2 separate regions of the Homo sapiens genome follow, and region 2 is linked to region 1. Evidence: promoter capture Hi-C in 16 types of primary human blood cells and fetal thymus (Javierre and others, 2016). All regions are on one chromosome and are shown on one strand. Each heading gives the region's core, a stretch centred on a gene start or on the middle of the fragment in contact. The rest is flanking DNA. Distances are from core to core; before and after follow the strand shown. Region 1 holds the start of SNX10 (sorting nexin 10). Region 2 overlaps LOC105375199 (a long non-coding RNA gene).

Region 1 (2,792 bases), core at 109-2,608:
TTACAGGCGTGAGCCACCGCGCCCGGCCCAAGTTACCAGTCTTAATAGGGTCAAAATTCTAACAGATATTCAAATGACTTTCAGTAGACTCTCCAAGGGTTTGTTGCTGCTTTGTCTACAGCTGTAAAGTCATGCTCTTGACAATAAGTTCAGAAAGATTTTAATTTTACAGAATCTCTTAGGATCTTAGATACATGCTGCATTTTGTTTTCTACTCAATGTTTTTCTTTGCGGAGCATAGGGACAAGAATATAAAAAATACACTTTAATTTGATTTTCTTTCTTTTTTTTTTGAGACAGAATCTTGCTCTGTCGCCCAGGCTGGAGTGCAATGGCATGATCTCGGCTCACTGCAACCTCTGCCTCCCGGGTTCAAGCTATTCTCCTGCCTCAGCCTCCCGAGTAGCTGGGATTACAGGCGCGCGCCACCACGCCCAGCTAAGTTTTTGTATTTTTAGTAGAGACGGCATTTCACCATGTCAGCCAGGATGGTCTCCATCTCCTGACCTTGTAATCCACCCGCCTCGGCCTCCCAGAGTGCTGGGATTACAAGCGTGAGCCACCACACCAGCTTAATTTGATTTTCAAAAGTGATCATGGTTGCATTCACTTGTGTGTCATGACTTGGGTGCAATTTTAGGAAATTAAATACCAGTGATTGAGGGTTCAGCAATACAACTTCAAGATCCAAGATGTTAAGACACAACATTGTATATTTATACGTTTTGTTAGGGAGTTAATGTAGGTGTGGTGAACAGATGCGTTTTCAGGTGGGCCTGGAATGGTCCCTGGAGGATGATCAGCGACAAGCTGTATCTAATGGGAAAATTCATGCTTGAAAAATGAAATATTAGGCTATGCTTATTATTCTGTGTCATTCAGTCACTTATTAGCAGTTTAAGTGATGATTGTGGTTTCCCATGCAAACAGGTGTGGGGACCCAGCCTCAGGTGCCATTTGGGAAATGCTTTCCTCAGTCAGGTCCCTTGGCAGATCTCATTAGCTTTCCCCCCAAATGTTTTATTGAGACATTTCAAACATAGACAAAAACTGAAATAATTTTATATAAACACCATAGCCCACCACCTAGATGCTATGAACATTCTGCCATTCTTGTTTATCACGTTATTTATCCGTCCTCCTCCCCATCGGCAATCCTCCCCATAACTGTGGGGTCAGGGTTAGGAAGCTTAAGGTGACTCAGGTGGCGAATTCCGAAGGGTGCCGCTGGAGCACCTCCAGCCTCAACGTCCGGACTAATGGGGGCATTTCCTCCCTAACTCAATTTCAGGAAGCAGGAGGCTAGCTCTGCAGGGTGGGGGCGCACCTGGGCTGGGCTGCGCGGAGGCGGCGGAAGCACTAGGCGCGGCGCCCACAGGCGGACGGCTGGCGCTGAGCGCGGGCGCGGGGCCGCTACGTGCGCGGGGAGCGCGGGGAGCGCGGGGAGCGCGGGGCTGCGCTCGTGTGCGCTCCTGGGCGCTCGCCGCCGCCGCTGCCGCCGCGCGCCTTTGAGTCAGCAAACTCCGCGGCCCGCAAGCCCGGCTCGGCCCGGCCCTGCTCTGTTCTGCCCGGAGGAGCCGCCCGTAAGTGACAAGAGACCCGCTGAGGGGGCCTCCCCTGCACCGCCCAGGTGGGGACGGCGGCCCTTCTTTCCAGAGGCGCGGGCCCTTCCCGCTGTTCCCAGGTGCCCGCACCCTTGCGGGCTGGAAAGAGGTTTGGGTCCCTTGGGCTTGGAGCAGAGGAGCCGCCTCCTTTTCAGCCGAGGTGTGCCGGGCAGGGAGAAATGATCAGCGCGGTAGAGCGGGGAGATGGAGCGCGTCGATCCAGGGATTCTTGGCTAAAAAGACACCCCGGGGAGAGGGTGGGGCAGAGGTGGATTCTAGATTACGGAAGAAGTGCTGTGGCACCTTACACCAGGCCGGGTAGAAGGGGGTGGGGAGGTGGTTTTTAAAATTTATTTATTTATTTTTTTATTCATTCATTAACGGGTAGCCTTGAGTTGAGGAATTGGGAGGGGTAGGCAGGTTTATTCGTGGGATTGTGGGATTGAGGGAGAAGGCCCAGGGGAAAATCCATATAATTGACTGATTATCAGATTTGGTGACCAGGAAAGCAACAGCCTGTTTTTCAGTTCCGATGCATCATACTTTTCTCAAATTACACGGATTATTGAGGGGGATCGTCACGGAATGGGGAGCAACATGTCCTGCTGAAAGGAAGGGCTTCTATCTCTACAAGACACGTTAAAAATGATGGTATCAGAAAATTAGAACGGGGAGGAGGCTTGCACATGATCTCCATCAAACCTTTCATTTTACAGACAGGGAGGCTAAGGCCGAGGGACGCTGAGTGTTGGGACCAGGATCATTCAGCCAGATGGGAGCAGAACCAGGCCTACAACCTGGCAGGCTTCTGACTTCCACCCCGGAGTTATGTCCACCTCTGGGGCCTGGGAACTGGGTTTGGATTGCATAAGCTCCCCCTCCTCTCCCAGGAGGGGGCTGGGCTGGAGGCTGAGGCCTTCGCCAGGAAGAAGCAGGGACTGCTTGGATAGTTGACCAGCTTCTGCAGGGGCTCCTCAGTGAGAGAATGGAGGTGAGGTCAGGGACTCCTGCCTTGCCTCTGCCATCACTTCCAGTGATGCCTATTCCTAAGGTAGGTACATAGCTGGACCTTCATTATTCTTAATATTATTTACTTTTTTCTTTTTCTTTTGAGACAAGGTATTATTCTGTCACCCAGGCTGGATTGCAGTGGTGCGATCTTGGCTCACTGCAAACTCCACCTCCCAG
Region 2 (2,924 bases), core at 58-2,557, 180 kb before region 1:
ACAGGGTTTCTCTATGTTGGTCAGGCTGGTCTCGAACTCCTGACCTCATGTGATCTGCCCACCTCGGCCTCCCAAAGTGCTGGGATTACAGGCATGAGCCACCGAGCCCCTGCCTAACTGGTTTAATTTTATAATCCCTTTCTCCCGAGGGAAAAAAAAAAAGAAAATTCAGATTTTTCAAATTTCAGACAAGTGCTCTTTACTGCTTTTACTGAGATTTTTCCTTGCCAATCATTTCCTGGAATTTCTCCATTGATGCCTTTCATTGCTAGTCTCAGCTTTTTGCTGAAGGTTGATTATGTGACTAAAAGTTGGTTGCAAAAAATGTCCCTACATATCACATTTTCCCAAAGTTCTGCTCTTTTTCCAATTCAACCTTCATGGTTTTACTTTTCCCTGCAATATAAGTAATCTCTCAGCTGCTAATTCACAAAACCTCAGAGTTGGTGACTTCTCTCCCCATCTAGTCATTCTCTGAACTGACCAAAGTAGGAAGGTTTCAAGTGTCATCTTATGAAGACCCACTTTTCCCAAAGGACACTGTACAGGTGAGACAAGAGGATGTATTCTAGTCGAGGCAAGGCTTCTGCAGCAGTCAGCAAAGCAGCAGAGTGGTTTAGCACTAGCCAAACGGATGATAGTGCTATATCTACCTACGTAGACAAAGTCACACCTGGAAAGAGGCAGAAATAGAATAACCCCTGGGCATTATTTATTTTAGAATAGGAAGAAAGAAATTGAGGAAGACTGGGCCTTACCTGATATGCCTGGCAATTAATGAGCAGAGAGCAGTGCTGGTTACCATATTAGCTGAGAGATAAAATGTGTAAGGGAATGAAAGGAGGCAAATCTACTCCCAACAATGGTCACCAATCAGATTTCCCAGAGTCCAAGCTCTCTGGACATTCAAGGAGAATTTTCTAAAGCTTTCCCTAAGTTGCTAAACCATTGTCCCCCAATAACAAATAATTTATATCAACCTAGAGAATAATTGGGCCTTGTATCAAGACACGGTGAGGCAGAGCACTTGTAAATGATGAATGAGCAGCAGGGCCAGTCACGCTGATATAAACTCAAACCATGGTGGCCACCGTCCATTAGGAAGTTCCAAGTGGAATCCATCCATAATGGGATTTTATACTCATAGTTGTGCCCAACCTTGCCACGGCAGAATCCCCATTTGTGTGCCCAGAAGTGCAATCAAAGAGTCATTTCTGCACTATGATTCTGTCTTGATTTTCTTAGCTATGCGTGACCTTGAGCCTGGGCACTTCCCTTCTTCATATCAGGACATTAAAGGGAAACAAGAAAACATATTTTCTTTTTTCATATTAGGATCTCACAATTTTTACTGCTTCCTTTTTAACTTTTTAATACAATACATTCATGTAATGCCAAAATTAAGATAATGTTTGGGAAAAACCCAAATACCCAATTTACCAAATCACTCTAAAAGCTGGCTGATCAATATGTCCCCCTTTTGTTTCTGCAAAATTAGATTCATGATGTATATGTGATCTGTTCATCTGCTGCTTTCATTTATGATTATGGCAGGTATTTTCTCCTATAAGTTTCATAATCACAATTTTTTACAAAGGGTATATCAGCGTATTGTTGGCCCTAATTTAGTAAATCATTTCCCTATTGTTCATCCAGGCTGAAAGAGTCTTTATCAGCACAAGACCAAAGAAGCTTCCATTTGCTATTAAGTTTTGAGTTGGGAACTCTATTCGGAGAACAATTGCTCTGAAAGCTCTACGTGACTCCTTCGGATGCAAGAGTGAGGCCAGCTCAGCTGGGATAAGCTCCTACTACAGAAAAGTAGGGGGAAAATTTCAGAATCTGGTGGTTCATCATAGAGCCAGCACTAGCATGAAAGGATGAGGCTGCCACCTCAGGGACAAAATGAAAAACAAAACAAGAAAGCCACATCAAAGAACGAAAATTTTACCCATAATTAGTTGTGTTGAATATTGCTTGTTTTTCCCCTTTTGGTTACTGGTGTACAAACTTTTAACATGAACAACAACAAAAAAAAACTTTAATCATTACTTTTTTTTTTTTTTTTTTGAGGCAGGGTCTCATTCAGTCACCAAATCTGATCGCAGCTCACTGCGGCCTCAACCTCCCAGACTCATGTGATCTTCCTACCTCAGCCTCCTGAGTAGCTGGTATTACAGGCTCACACCACCATGCCCAGCTAATCTTTGTATTTTGGGTGGAGATCAGGTTTTGCCATGTTGCCCGGGCTAGTCTCGAACTCCTGGGCTCAAGCAATCTTCTTGCCTCGGCCTCCCAAAGTGCTGGGATTATGGGTGTGAGCCACCGCACCCACATAATGATTATGTTACTTTTTTTGCTGTTCTTTTTTTCATTGGCAAAAGGAATAAATGCACAAGATTTTTTTAAATCCAGACACAGTATATTGTCTCAGATCTTGACCTCTATCCTTCTGGAATTTTTCTTTGTATATATATGTATATTTACATGTGATGTCCCTTTTTGTTTACACAAATAAGAACACACACTGTATTGCACTTGCCATTTTTATTTGACCTCAGGTCTCAGATTGATTCATCTTGGCATAGATAATCTACTTCATTATTTTTTGTAAGAGCTGCATAGTTTTTCACTACATGAAAGTGCTATAACCATTTCCCTAGTGTGAGATATTTTCATAGTTTCTAGGGTTTTTCATATTAAAAATAATGTTGTAACCATAACATTTTTTGACAGATTCAAGGCAATCGAAAGTCCTAGATTTCCTGAACAGTCTTAAATTAATGTCATAAATGATTTTTAATAGAATAATTTATATAGATTCCAAAAAGGCATTTGATAACATTTTATTCCTGATTTTTTAAAAAGAAATTTCAGTTAAGAAAAAATTCTTTTTTTAATTTTTATGCTTAATGGGGAAATAA

Evidence for each region. The method cuts DNA at HindIII sites, captures the fragments that hold promoters and counts their contacts. A CHiCAGO score of 5 or more calls a contact.
Region 2: a fragment that was not itself captured here is called in contact with the fragment with the promoter of SNX10 in region 1 in 1 of 17 cell types (activated CD4 T cells); the score reaches 6.6 in activated CD4 T cells.

What each region holds. Positions count from the first base shown.
Region 1 is chr7:26,290,504-26,293,295 of GRCh38, forward strand. It overlaps SNX10 (sorting nexin 10), which reads left to right and starts at 1,359. Exons shown (of 7, transcript NM_013322.3): 1 at 1,359-1,583. RefSeq lists silencers at 1,383-1,622, 1,773-1,852. The HindIII fragment of the contact is 4,940 bases long and covers 1,188-2,792 here.
Region 2 is chr7:26,110,509-26,113,432 of GRCh38, forward strand. The region is part of intron 1 of LOC105375199 (a long non-coding RNA gene); the gene reads right to left. All of the region lies in intron 1 of LOC105375198 (a long non-coding RNA gene), which reads left to right. Among named protein-coding and RNA genes, the nearest start is that of NFE2L3, 40 kb to the right of the region's middle. The HindIII fragment of the contact is 766 bases long and covers 925-1,690 here.